Linked DNA regions of Homo sapiens: region 1 is linked to region 2. Evidence: promoter capture Hi-C in 16 types of primary human blood cells and fetal thymus (Javierre and others, 2016). All regions are on one chromosome and are shown on one strand. Each heading gives the region's core, a stretch centred on a gene start or on the middle of the fragment in contact. The rest is flanking DNA. Distances are from core to core; before and after follow the strand shown.

Region 1 (6,856 bases), core at 2,126-4,625, 130 kb before region 2:
ACTGGAAATCATTCAATCTGAGGAACAAAAAGAAAAAAATGACAAAGAGTGAAGATAACTTAAGTGACGTATGGGATACCATCAAGCAAAATAACTTACACATAATTGATAGCCAGAGTCAGAGCCAGAAGTAGAAAAAAGAGAGAAAGGGAGAGAAAACATATACAAAGAAATAATGGTAGAAAACTTCCCAAGTCCAGGAAGAAATTGGAAAGCCAGATCCAGGAAGTCCATAGCACACCAAATAAGATGAACCTAAGGAGATCCACACCAGGACACATCATAGTCAAATTGTTAAAAGTTAAAAGACTGAGAGAGTATTGAAAGCAGCAAGGGAAAAGCAAATTATCATAGGGGAACCTCCATAAGAATATAAATAGACTTCTCAGCAGAAACCTTGCAAGCTATAAGAGAGTGGGATGATATAGACAAAACCCTGAAAGAAAAAGACCACCAATCAAGAAAACTATACGCAGCAACACTGTCTTTCAAAAAATGAAGGGGTGATTAAGACTTTCTCAGAAAAACAAAAGTTGGGAGACTTTATTACCATTAGACCTGCATTACAAAAACTAAATGAACTTCTTCACCTGAAGGAAGAGGATGCTAATTAGTAACTAAATCATATGAAAGTATAAAACTCACTGGTAAAAGTAAGTACATTGACAAATACAAAACCCTCTAATACTGTAACAGCAGTAGGTAAATCAATTATATTTCTAGTATAAAGTTCAAAAGGGAAAACCATTAAAAACAACTAAAGCTACAATAATTTGCTAAGGGATACATGTTATAAGATGATATAAAAGTGTAACATCAAAAACAAAACATGGGAGGAGGTGGAGTAAAAGTGGAGGTATTGTGTATGCAATCAAAATTAAGTTATTATTGGATAAATTAATCTGTTATGAGTATAAGATGTTTTTATTTTTTAAATTTTAATTTAATTTAATTTTTGAGACTGGGTCTTGCTTTATCACCCAGGCTGGAGTGCAGCGGCATGATCATGGCTCACTGCTGGCTTGAACTCCTGGGCTCAAGTGATCCTCCCACTTCAGCCTTTCAAGTAGCTGGGACCACAGGTGTGTGCCATCATGCCCAGCTAATTTTTATTTTATTTATTTATTTTTAACTTTAAAAATTTTATATTTTTCATTTCCATAGGTTTTTGGGGAACAGGTGCTATTTGGTTACATGAGTAAGTTCTTTAGTGGTGATTTGTGAGATTTTGGTGTACCCATTTTACCTGAGCAGTATACACTGAACCCAATTGTAGCCTTTTATCCCTCACCCCCTTCTCACCCTTTTCCCCTGAGTCCCCAAAGTCCATTGTATCATTCTTCTGCCTTTGCATCCTCATAGCTTAGCTCCCACTTATAAGTAAGAACATATGATGTTTGGTTTTCCATTGTTGAGTTGCTTCACTTAGAATAATAGTCTGCAATCCCATCCAGGTTGCTGTGAATGCTATTAGTTCATTCCTTTTTATGGCTGAGTAGTATTCCATCATATACATGTATATATATGTGTATATATATATTGTGTATACATATATATATATACACACACACCACAATTTCTTTATCCACTTGTTGATTGATGGGCATTTGATGGCCAGCTAATTAAAAAAAAATTTTTAAGAGATGGGGTCTTACTATGTTGCCCAGGCTGGAGTGCAGTGGCTATTCAGAGGCATGATCATGGTGTACTATAGCCTTGAACTCCTGGGGTCAAGTGATCCTCCTGTCTCAGCCTCCCAAGTAGCTAGAATTACAGGCATGCACCACTGTGCCTGGCTGTATAAGATGTTTTGTGTAAACCTCAGGGTAACCACAAAGCAAAAGCCTACAATACAAATACAAAAGAGAAAAAGAAAAGACCCAAGGTATACCACTACAGAAAGCCATCAAACAACTAAGAAAGAAAGCAAGGGAAAAGGAAGGGAGCAAAAGATCTATAAAACAACTAGAAATATCCAGAATCTATAGGGAACTTAAATCAACAAGCAAAAAGCAAATAACCTCATTGAAAAGTGGGCAAAGGACATGAACAGACACTTCTCAAAAGAAGACATACAAGTGACCCACAAACATGAAAAATGCTCATAATCTCTAATCATCAGAGAAATGCAAGTCAAAACCACAAGGAAATACCATCTCACACCAGTAAGAATGGCTTTTGTTAAAAAGTAGAAGACAAAAACAGATATTGGTGAGGCTGCAGCAAAAAGGGGACACCTGTATATGGCTGGTGGAAATGTAAAAATTAGTCCAGACACTGTGGAGAGCAGTTTGGAGATTTCTCAAAGAACTAAGAGTTGAACTACCATTCGACCCAGCAATCCCATTACTCGGTATACACCCAAACAAAAATAAATTGTTCTACCAAGATGACACGTGCATCCATATGTTCATCACAGTGCTATTCATAATAGCAAAAACATGGAATCAACCCAGGTACCCATCAACAGTGGACTGGATAAAGAAAATGTGGTATGCAGACACCATGGAATACTATGCAGCCATAAGGAAAAATGAAATCATGTCCTTTGCAGCAACGTGGATGCAGCTGGAGGCCATTATCCTAAGGGAACTAATGCAGAAACAGAAAACCGTACACTGCATGTTCTCACTTACAAGCGGGAGCTAAACATCAGTTACTCATGGTCATAAAGATGGCAACAAAACTAGTGACTACTAGCAGGTGGAGGAGGGGAAAGGGCTGAAAAACTACCTATTGGGTACTATGCTCACTACCTGGGTGATAGGTTCAGTCATACCCCAAACCTCAGCATCATGCAATATACATTTGTAACAAATATGTACATGTACCCCGACTCTAAAAAGTTGAAAAAAAAAACCTCTAGAAAACAATGAACAAAATGGCAAGAGTAAGTTCATACCTATCAATAATAATCTTGAATGTATACGAATTAAATTCTTCAATTAAAAGACATACAATGACTGGATGATAAAAAAACAAGACCTGTATATATGTGTCCAACAAGAGGCTCACCTCATATGTAAGGACACACATAGACTGAAAGTGAAGGGATGAAAAGAGGATACTTCCTGCAAATGTAAATTAAAAGAGAGCAGGAGTAGCTATATTTATATCAGATAAAACAGACTTTAAGTCAAAAACAGCAAAAAGAGACAAAGTCATCGTATGAAGATAAATAGGTCAATTCAGCAAGAGTATATAACAATTGTAAATATATATGCACCTAACACCTGAACACCCAAATATGTATAGCAAATATTGATGGATCTAAAGGTAGAGATAGACTACAATATAATAATACTAGCGGACTTTTAACAGACCACTTTCAGCAATGGACAGATTGTCCAGACAGAAACATCAGCAAAAAAATCAGAGCTAAACTACACTCTAGACCAGGTGGACCTAACTGACATTTACAGAGCATTTCATCAAACAATTTCAAAATACACATTCTTGTCATCAGCACATAGAATATTCTTCAGGTTGGACCATATGGGCTAGGTCATAAAACAAGTCTCAAAAAATTTAAAACATTGAAATCATATCAATTATCCTTTCTGACCATAGTAGAATAAAACTAGGAATCAATAACAAGAGGAACTTTGGAAACTGTACAAATACATGGAAATTAAACATGCCTTTGGACAACCAATGGCTAAAGGGAGAAATTAAGAAGAAAATTTTTAAAATTTCTTGAAAGAAATGAAAATGGAAACCCACCATACCAAACCTATGGGATACAGAAAAAGCAGTACTAAGAAGGAAGTTTGTAGTAATAAATGCCTATGTCAAAGAAGTAGAAGATTTCAAATAAACAACCTAATGATGCACTTCAGGGAACTAGAAAAACAAGAACAAGCCAAACCCAAAATTAGTAGAAGGAAATGAATAAGAAATGTCAGAGCAGAAATAAACAAAATAGAGACTAGAAAAACAATACAAAAGATCAAGAAAACAAAAGGTTGGTTTTATGAAAAGATAAAATTAAAAAAAAAACTACTAGTTAAACTAAGAAAGAAAAAGAGAAGACCCAAAGAAATAAAATCAGAAATAAAAAAGAAGACATTACAAGTGATAAAACAGAAATATGAATTATCATTAGAGAATATTATGAACAACAATACACTAACAAATTGGAAAACCTAGAGAAAATGGATTAATTCCTGGTCACATATAACCCACCAAGATTGAAAAAAATAGAAAACATGAACAGGCTGATAACAAGTAATTAGACTGAATCAGTAATACAAAGTCTCCCAATAAAGAAAAGTCTAGGACTGGATGGCTTCACTGCTGAGTTATACCAAAGTTTTAAAGAAGAACAAACATAATTTATCCTCAAACTATTCCAAACAATGGAAGAGGAAGGAATTCTTTCTACTCATTCTACAGAGCCAGCATTACTCTGATACCAAAACTAGACAAGGACACAACAACAAAAAAAGAAAACTACAGGCAAATAGCCCTGATGAACATAGATGAGAAATGCTCAACAAAATGTTAGTAAACCACATTCCACAGCACATCAAAAAGATTATACAACATGATCAAGCAGAATTTATCCCAGGAATGGAAGGCTGGTTGAACATATGCAAATCAATAAATGTGATATATCATATCAACAGAATGAAGGACAAAAACCATGTAATCATCTCAACACATGCAGAAAAACATTTAATAAAATTCAACATCTCTTCATGGTAAAAACTATCAACAAATTAGGTATAGAGAAAAACATACCTCAAAACAATAAAGACCATATATGATGAACCCACAGCTAACATCAAACTGAATAAGGAAAAGTTGAAAGCATTTTTTTTTAAGATCTGGACAAAGACAAGGAAGCCTAGTTTCACCACTTTTATTCAACATAGTGCTGGAAGTCTTAGCCAGAGCAATTAGGCAGGAGAAAGAAATAAAGGGCATCCAAATTGGAAAGGAGGAAGTCAAATTGTCCCTGTTTGCAGATAACATGATCTTATATTTTGAAAACCCCAAAGACTCGTCCAAAACACTCTTAGAACCGATAAATGAATTCAGTAGGATTCAAAATATCTCAAATAATATATAAAATATCTCAAAATAATAAGAGCTATTTATGACAAACCCATAGCCAATAACATACTGAATGGGCAACAGCTGGAAGCATTCCCTTTAAAAACCGGCAGAAGACAAGGATGCCCTCTCTCACCACTCCTATTCAACGTAGTATTTGACGTTCTGGCCAGGGCAATCAGGCAAGAGAGAGAAATAAAGGATATTCAAATAGGAAGAGAGGAAGTCAAATTGTCTCTATTTGCAGATGACATGGTTGTGTACTTAGAAAACCCCATAATCTCAGCCCCAAAACTCCTTAAGCTAATAAGCAACTTCAGCAAATTCTCAAGATACAAAATTGATGTGCAAAGATCACAAGCATTCCTAAACACCAATAATAGACAAGCAGAGAGCCAAATCATGAGTGAATTCCCATTCACAATTGCTACAAAGAGAATAAAATAGCTAGGAATACAACTTACAGGGGACATGAAGGACCTCTTCAAGGAGAACTACAAACCACTGCTCAAGGAAATAAGGGAGGACACAAACAAATGGAAAAACATTCCATGGTCATGGGTAGGAAGAATAAATATCGTAAAAATGGCCACACTGCCCAAAGTAATTTATACATTCAATGATATTCTCATCAAGCTACCATTGACTTTCTTCGCAGAATTAGAAAAAATTACTTTAAATTTCATATGGAACCAAAAAAGAGCCCGTATAGCAAAGACAAGCAAAAAGAACAAAGCTGGAGGCATCACACTGCCTGACTTCAAACTATAATACAAGGGTACAGTAACCAAAACAGCATGGTAGTGGTACCAAAATAGATATATAGACCAATGGAACAGAACAGAGGCCCCAGAAGTAACACCACACATCTACAACCATCTGATTTTGACAAACCTGACAAAAACAAGCAATGGGGAAATGATTCCCTATTTAATAAATGGTGCTGGGAAAACTGGCTAGCCATATGCTGAAAACAAACTGGACCCCTTCCTTACACCTTATACAAAAATTAACTCAAGGTGGATGAAAGACTTAAATTTAAAACCCAAAACCATAAAAACCCTAGAAGAAAACCTAGGCAATACCATTCAGGACATAGGCATGGGCAAAAACTTCATGACTAAAACACCAAAAGCAATGGCAACAAAAGCCAAAATTGACAAATGGAATCTAACTAAAGAGCTTCTGCACAGAAAAGAAACTATCATCAGAGTGAACAGGCAGCCTACAGAATGGGAGAAAATGTTTGCAATCTTTCTATCTGACAAAGGTCTAATATCCAGAATCTACAAGGAACTTAAACAAATTTACAAGAAAAAAACAACCCCATCAAAAAGTGGGCAAAGGATATGAACAGACACTTCTCAAAAGAAGACATTTATGTGACCAACAAACATATAAAAAATGCTCATCATCAGTGGCTATTAGAGAGATGCAAATGAAAACCACAATGAGATACCATCTCATGCCAGTTAGAAAGGCGATTATTAAAAAGTCAGGAAACAACAGATGCTAGAGAGGATGTGGAGAAATAAGAACGCTTTTACACTGTTGGCAGGAGTGTAAATTAGTTCAACAATTGTGGAAGACTGTGTGGTGATTCCTCAAGGATCTAGAACCAGAAATACCATTTGACCCAGCAATCCCATTACTGGGTATATACCCAAAGGATTAGAAATCATCCTACTATAAAGACACATGCACACGTATGTTTATTGCAGCACTATTTACAATAGCAAAGACTTGGAACCAACCCAAATGCCCATCAATGATAGACTGGATAAAGAAAATGTGGCAC
Region 2 (6,678 bases), core at 2,802-5,301:
CAGTCTGACTTTCTGGGCTGCACAGATATGCCAGAACACACTTTTAACCCATTCTTTGCTTTATTTATATTCTTAACTTTTCCCAGCCACTGCTGATTATTCCTGGACCCTTTTTCTGATTAGCCCTGGATCCACATTTGGCTGCTATTCTGTGCCATGCCCATTTGAAGACAAGGCTGTACAAGTAAACAAAACTGTCCTGGATGCATAAAGAGTCCTCAATAAATATTTGTTGAAGGAATGAATGAACAAAGGCATGAAGGCAAGCCCAACAGCTGAGCTAGCAGTGTAGGGGAAATGTCTCTCATCATGTGGCCTCCTAAGGATAGAAGAGGGAAGAATGAGTGGAATTGCAGGGCTGGCAGAGGCCTCACCAATCTGAGCTTCTCAGGAGTGGTGACTTGTGATTCACGTGGAAGTGGGGTGTTCCACCTTTGCAAATAGCCCTTTGAGAACCTCAACTGAATCTAACTTTTAAAAAACTGCTCTGTGCTCACGCCTCCAACAGCTCAGGCTTCTGTTTTGGGAAAGGTAAAGACCTTTGCATGCCATGAGGTTTCATACAGGTGTTCAGAATTGGGCTTCGAGCCATCTAATCTCCACTCCTTTAGTCCTGTGGTCTTTGGCTGGATTTTGGTCTCTGTAAATGAACTGAAGCAAGGGGAGGTTGGGGAGGACAGTTGCATATTTATCTCCTGGAGACTTGAGGCACCTTTAACCCCAAACAGGATATGCTCTGCCAAGGGCTTGACTTGAATTTTTTCATCTCAATGTCAGTCCTTGTGCTTCACCCCCTACAAAGCCAGGTTAAGCCAAAAAGGGGAAGAAGTTTGCATATTTGTTTGAAAGCTTGATGCAGCTGTTCCAGACAAACAGAGCTACTGCCAAAGGCCTCCACCAGGAGCTAAGGGCATGTGGAAAATTTTAGCTGCAGGGACTGTGGCTGTGATGGGAGCAGTTTGTTATTTACTCATCTCTGGATATTTTCCTAACCCCATTGGTTGGGTCTGTCTCCTTCCCCCACTACTCCCCACGGGCCCCTGTGAGGGCAGACACTGCAGGCCACAGAATATTCTTAGCACTTGGAATGCCAGCTGGGCCCCATATAAAACCTCTGTATGCCACTTCATTATCCTGCCCTCATCCCTTCCCCCTCCCCTTTCCCTCTTCTCACTGAGTTTGTTCTCTGGCTCTCTGGGTGAAGAGTGAAATATTCAGGAATCCAGAAATCTCCATCCCTTCTGAAGTAAAGAACAAATGAGAAGAAACTGGGAAATTCCTGATTAAAAGGATGTGATCTGTATTGCCACTAACAGCTTTGGCATAAAAGGGCTATAAAAAATCTCATTTTATAAATAAGATCAGAGAGGGTGGGAAGAAGTCTGATGGATTCTCATTTCACTTGAATAGATTGCCTGCCCCCCTTATTTTTTCCAAATGAGGTATGTGGTCTAAGTCCATTTTTGTGGTCTTGACAAGAGTATTTGACTCATAAAAGAATTAATATTAATAAAGATTTGACTCATAAAGGATTTCATGTTAGAAAATGGTTTTCAGGAAGCTAAGTGCACAAGCAGGTGAGACAATGGCCTCAAAGGTGATGTCCAACCTTCTCATGTTTGTACTAGTGTGGCCTATTTCACCTATTTCAAATAGCTCTTGTTAGGCTGCCTTAAAAGCCTCCCTTGGTAGTCTGTTGCCATGTTTAACCATCTTTATTGTCCTTTAATACTTCTCTGTATAGAAAATAAGTGTCTCTTTTTGTAGTCTAACTCTTCCTTCTCCAAGTCTTGGTCTAGGACCTATCCTTCCTGGAAATAATAGGCAACAGCTCCTAGAACTTACCTGCATACCATGTTGGTGTCACTGCCGGAGTTAGGAAGAACAGCAGAAAGAGAGCTCCTCTTTGAGTTAGCTGACTGGCCATCCTTGAAAGGGAGGATTATGGAGACAAGAAAAGATGTATATGGCCTGAAGTACCAGGGCAAAGGAAAGTGACTTTCAGAAGTCAGCCATCAATTAACTTCTAAAAGTGAGGGGAAGCAGAAATATGGGATCTGTGAGGAAGAAGAGAGATTTTATAATTAATGAATGCCTTTTATATTATCTCCCTCATAAGGATCTTTCATGTTATAGAATAACAAGACTCTGTTTGTTATTTATGGTCCCTTTTCCTCCCAGGAGGAGGAGGATGTAAAACAACCAATCTTCATCTGACTCTGGTGGGATCAGATGCAAATGCTTCATGGTCCAAGTTATAGAGAGGGACATTGAAGTACTGAGACCAGGAAAAGGCCAACATGAAGTTACACAGAACCAGGAGGGAACCTGGTGACCTAAAGGCTGCCATTAGGTTTCATTCATTCAACTAACATTTCCTAGCCACTAATCTGGGAAAGCGTTAGCATATGTGGTCTAAGAATTTGAACACTGAAGTTACACAGGTCTGGATGTGAATCCAATTCTGTCACCTATTAGCTATAGGGTCTTGGACAAATTTTTTAACTTCTCTAAGCCTCGGTTTCCTCATCTATAAAATGGGAATAATAATACTGTCTACCTCATGAATTGATTATTGTCTGTCATATAGGGAAGTAATTTATATATTAGACAATATTATTACCAACTTTGTATTGGACAGGACTGAATGTTTCCCTTCTCTAGTGTCCCAGGCAGTAACTGGACTCTGGCTCTGTTCTTAGCTTTGGGTTTTAAGGCTTGGTGGTTTGGTAGTGGCTTCTGGCTTTCAAGTCCAGCCTAACCCTCTAGTTTTACCTTGCTGAGCCAGCAGGAAGTCAGCGAGGTAGAGGAGGACCTGCTGAGGTACATGAGGAGAGGGTGAACAAGCTCCAATTGCCCTCTCACTTCCTCCCCTGTCCTCACCCTAATGGGACGAGAGTTTTGTGGTTCCCAGCGGGCAAATACTTTGTAAATGACAGTATTAAAACTTGCTGCCCATTGGTATAAATTGGCCACTGGGCATTTCAGCAAGCACCCATTCACTCACGGGCTTTCAATGAAATGCCATGCTCAGGGGAGGAGTCAGTCCTAGAAATAGAGAAACAAAAATGTGGTAGATTCTGGCCAGAGTCCCTAAGGGACATGCAAAGCCCAAGAAAGGGAAAAGTGTATTTTTTAGTTCATTGCTACTTGGCTTCAGATTTTGTCTAGAAAGTGACAGGGAAGCAGGACGGAGAAAAAGTGAGAGTAAACGAAGGAGGCAAGGGAAGTAGAAAGATGTGGGAAGGAAGGAAAGAAAATCTGACAGAGCTGAAGGAAAGAGATAGATAAACGCAGAAAGAGGCAACAAAAGGAGCAGAAAGAGGAGATTAAAGAGAGGTCCAGGAAGTGAACATTAGATAACTAATCACTGACCCCTCTCCCACATCTAGCCTCCATCCAGTTCCTTCGTTCTGGAGCAGAGGCATTCCTTTTTCAGATCCCTGAACCTGTGACCTCGTACCTGCCCAGCTTCTCCCCAATCTCAGGCTTAATACTTGACTCACCAGAGTCAACCATCCCATCCCTCTGCTGTGGGCTGAGAAGTTGCTGGGAACATGTGTTTGCAGTCAGGTCACGGCACAAATGAAAAGCAGCATATGATCCAGCTTCATAAAAGAACTTCCCCCCGACCTCCACCCCCAGCCATGTTGCCCAAGTTCTGGGTCTCCTTATCCCCTTCACAATTGTGAATTGGGGTAGTGGAGTGTGGAGGGGTTAGTTGCAGATCTTACCTGTTTTATGGTATTTTGTGCCCTTTTTCTCTCTCCTCCTCTTTCTCCTTCCTCTCTGCTCCTCTCATCAATTGGAAAAAACCTTCTACTTTAACATTCCTAGAACGAGTGGCTCCTGGTCTGTCCCGGCCTCCGGGATTCTGTTAACACTGCCCAGATGTTACGACGTCCACATCTGCCAAAAGTTTCCTTAAAGCTATATTATCCCTGAAGCTATAGTTATTCCTCTCTCAGAGAAGGGTTTTAGAAAGATGGGGGAGAAGGAACACAGGGATTAGAGGAACTCAGTCCGTCTGCTGCAGAAGAGGGGGAAGTGTGAATGGCACTGGCTCCAAGCCTGTGAATATAGTGATGACTAACACAGAGGCTGGCTTAAGCGGCCTCCAGAGATGTGTTGCACTGAAGAACACTTCTTTTTATGACTCAGCATGACATAAGAATTGAATGAAAAGGAATTTCATAAACACTCACAAACACCAAAGAGAGGGGAAGACTGTAGCTGACTTTGACATTCCCTAAGATTTCTCCTGTAATTCCTTAGACTCCCAACTCTGAACTGTCTTGCAATCTATATGGTATCACGTCAGATACGCTTTGAAACCCTCATGCCAGTGACCTAACTTCTCTGGACTTCAGTTTCTGTTAAGATTATATTGTTTACAAAAAAAACACAAAAAACAAAAAACAAAAAACATGTACTTCTTGCCCGAAGGATCAAGACTGATTTCCCACACTAAGAATGGAGGGAAAGCATGCCTGGAGAGGCTTTACTGGGAGGCTGTTTGAGCAAATCTAGCTGCTTCCCAGTGGTCTCTGATGGAGGGCTACATTTCACTCAGCAAGATTTTTTCATTTTAGTATCTGATAATGAGACTATTCTGCCATAGCACAGAGCAGCTACTTACAATCTCCCTCCCCTCACGGTTGACATTTCCATCTCTTGGAAAATCAGTGGTTATAGAAGGAAGAATTTTAAGCTGTTGTAGAAAGGGTGTTTCTCCTGTGTATGCAAGCAAATTGGTAACCCCTTCTCAGTCATAAGGGGAAGAATTGTACTTATGAGAATACAAAGTTCAAAAGCAAGCCTGAGCCTGCTTCATTTCCAATTCACCTGTGACAAATATGTATTGAGTGTCTACCATTTGCTTAACAGTGTAATAGCTACGTAAAGAAGATGTGGCTGGGCGCGGCGACTCACGCCTATAATCCCAGTACTTTGGGAGGCCGAGGTGGGCAGATCACGAGGTCAGGAGTTCGAGATCGGCCTGGCCAACATGGTGAAACCCCGTTTCTACTAAATACAAAAAAAAATTAGCCGGGCGTGGTGGTGCACGCCTGTAATCCTAGCTACCCAGGAGGTTGAGGCAGGAGAATTGCTTGAACCCAGGAGGCAGAGGTTGCAGTGAGCTGAGATCACGCCACTGCACTCCAGCCTGGGCGAGGGAGTGAGACTCCGTCTCAGAAGAAAAAAAAGAAGAAGAAGAAGACGTGATCGTCATGGCCTTATTCATTCCATAAATTTATCAAGTATCTACCATGTCAAGAGTGGTGGATGTAGTGGTGAACAAGACAGACAAAATCCCAGGCATTGTAATCCATAATTAATTCAACAAATACTTGTTGAGCATCCATTATGTGCCACATATGGTTCTAGGTATTTGAGAAACATCAGTGAACAAAATGGACAAAAATCCCTGCCCTCATGGAACAGAGGAGACAGACATCAAACAAGCATGTTCTTAATTACAATTGTGTGTGTTTAGGGAATCTTTACTGGTCATCTACTATAAGCTAAGCACTGCAGATACAGTGGTGAGCAAGTAATGTGTGATTCTTGATCTTATGGAGCTTACTCTCCAGCTCCCAGAGTTTATGTTTAGTAGGGGAGAGAAGAGGGACACAATCAATTAGAAAACAATACAACTCCCTACCGTAATAGACTGCCAAAAGCTGTGTTACAGACTTTAAGGACGCTAGGAGGAAGTCAGAGGAGGGGGTCACCTGAGAAGAGGTGGGCCTTGGTCTAGCCTCAGGCAAAGGAAATGCCATCAACAAGAGTTCACCTTTAGGTCAGAGGAGGGAGAGGCTAACTGCTAAGAGGTTTCAGGGAAAGATAGAAAACAAAGCTGAATAAATAGGGTAGGGCCAGAAAATCAGATATAGGAGTTTATTTTAAACTCGTGTGTGAGAAAATAGTGAATATATTAAATGTGTGTGTCTGTGTGTTTGAGTATGTGAGAGTGTGTGTGTGTGTGTGTGTGTGTGAGAGAGAGAGAGAGAGAGAGAGAGAGAGAGGAATATGAGAGAGAGAGGGAACAAGCAAAGTAATACATTCTACCAGAGTTTTTTCTTTCTTAGACCCCCCTCACTGGCTCCCTCTTGGCATAGTGTACGGTCTGAGTTCCTTAGCATTGCATACCATGTTCTTCACAAGCAAACCCCACCTATGTCCTTAGCCTAGTTTTAAGCATTCACCCCATGCCTCCTCATTCTGGACACCCTCTGCCTCATGCTCTTCCTTGAGCTTCTTGTTCTTCCTTTCACACCCTGGAGCCTCTGCACAGACGTGTTCACTCTGCTCCATGGTCCCTTCCCTCCTTTCTTGGCTTGTTGGAACTCTACCCACCCTTGCTGCTAGGAACCTTCCCCCAGCCCATCCCAGCCCAAGATGGTTAACTTTGCCTTCCTTTTCTCTCACAGCACTTTGTACATATCTCAATTTTAGGACTTTTCACACTTATTGGCATTGTTCTTTACTTATCTCTGACTCCTACTAGACTATGAGTGCTTATAAGGGCAAGAACCTTATCCTAGTCTTCTTCATATCCCCAGCCATCCAACACAAAGCCTAGCACATGCCAGGGTGAAGATGCTGCGTAAGGCCTCAATCCCACTGAAAGCTGGAAGCAGTGGGACAGAAGGGTTCCAGAGAGAGGTTAAAGAA

Evidence for each region. The method cuts DNA at HindIII sites, captures the fragments that hold promoters and counts their contacts. A CHiCAGO score of 5 or more calls a contact.
Region 1: a contact is called between a fragment that was not itself captured here and the fragment with the promoter of SRPX2 in region 2, in 1 of 17 cell types (M2 macrophages). The highest score is 5.8, in M2 macrophages.

The regions. Positions count from the first base shown.
Region 1 is chrX:100,769,679-100,776,534 of GRCh38, reverse strand. No RefSeq gene overlaps it. Among named protein-coding and RNA genes, the nearest start is that of SYTL4, 41 kb to the right of the region's middle. The HindIII fragment of the contact is 8,719 bases long and covers 1-6,856 here.
Region 2 is chrX:100,641,572-100,648,249 of GRCh38, reverse strand. SRPX2 (sushi repeat containing protein X-linked 2) reads right to left here and starts at 4,051. Exons shown (of 11, transcript NM_014467.3): 1 at 3,735-4,051; 2 at 1,846-2,057. The coding sequence starts at 1,927. RefSeq lists an enhancer at 764-1,058. The HindIII fragment of the contact is 8,191 bases long and covers 852-6,678 here.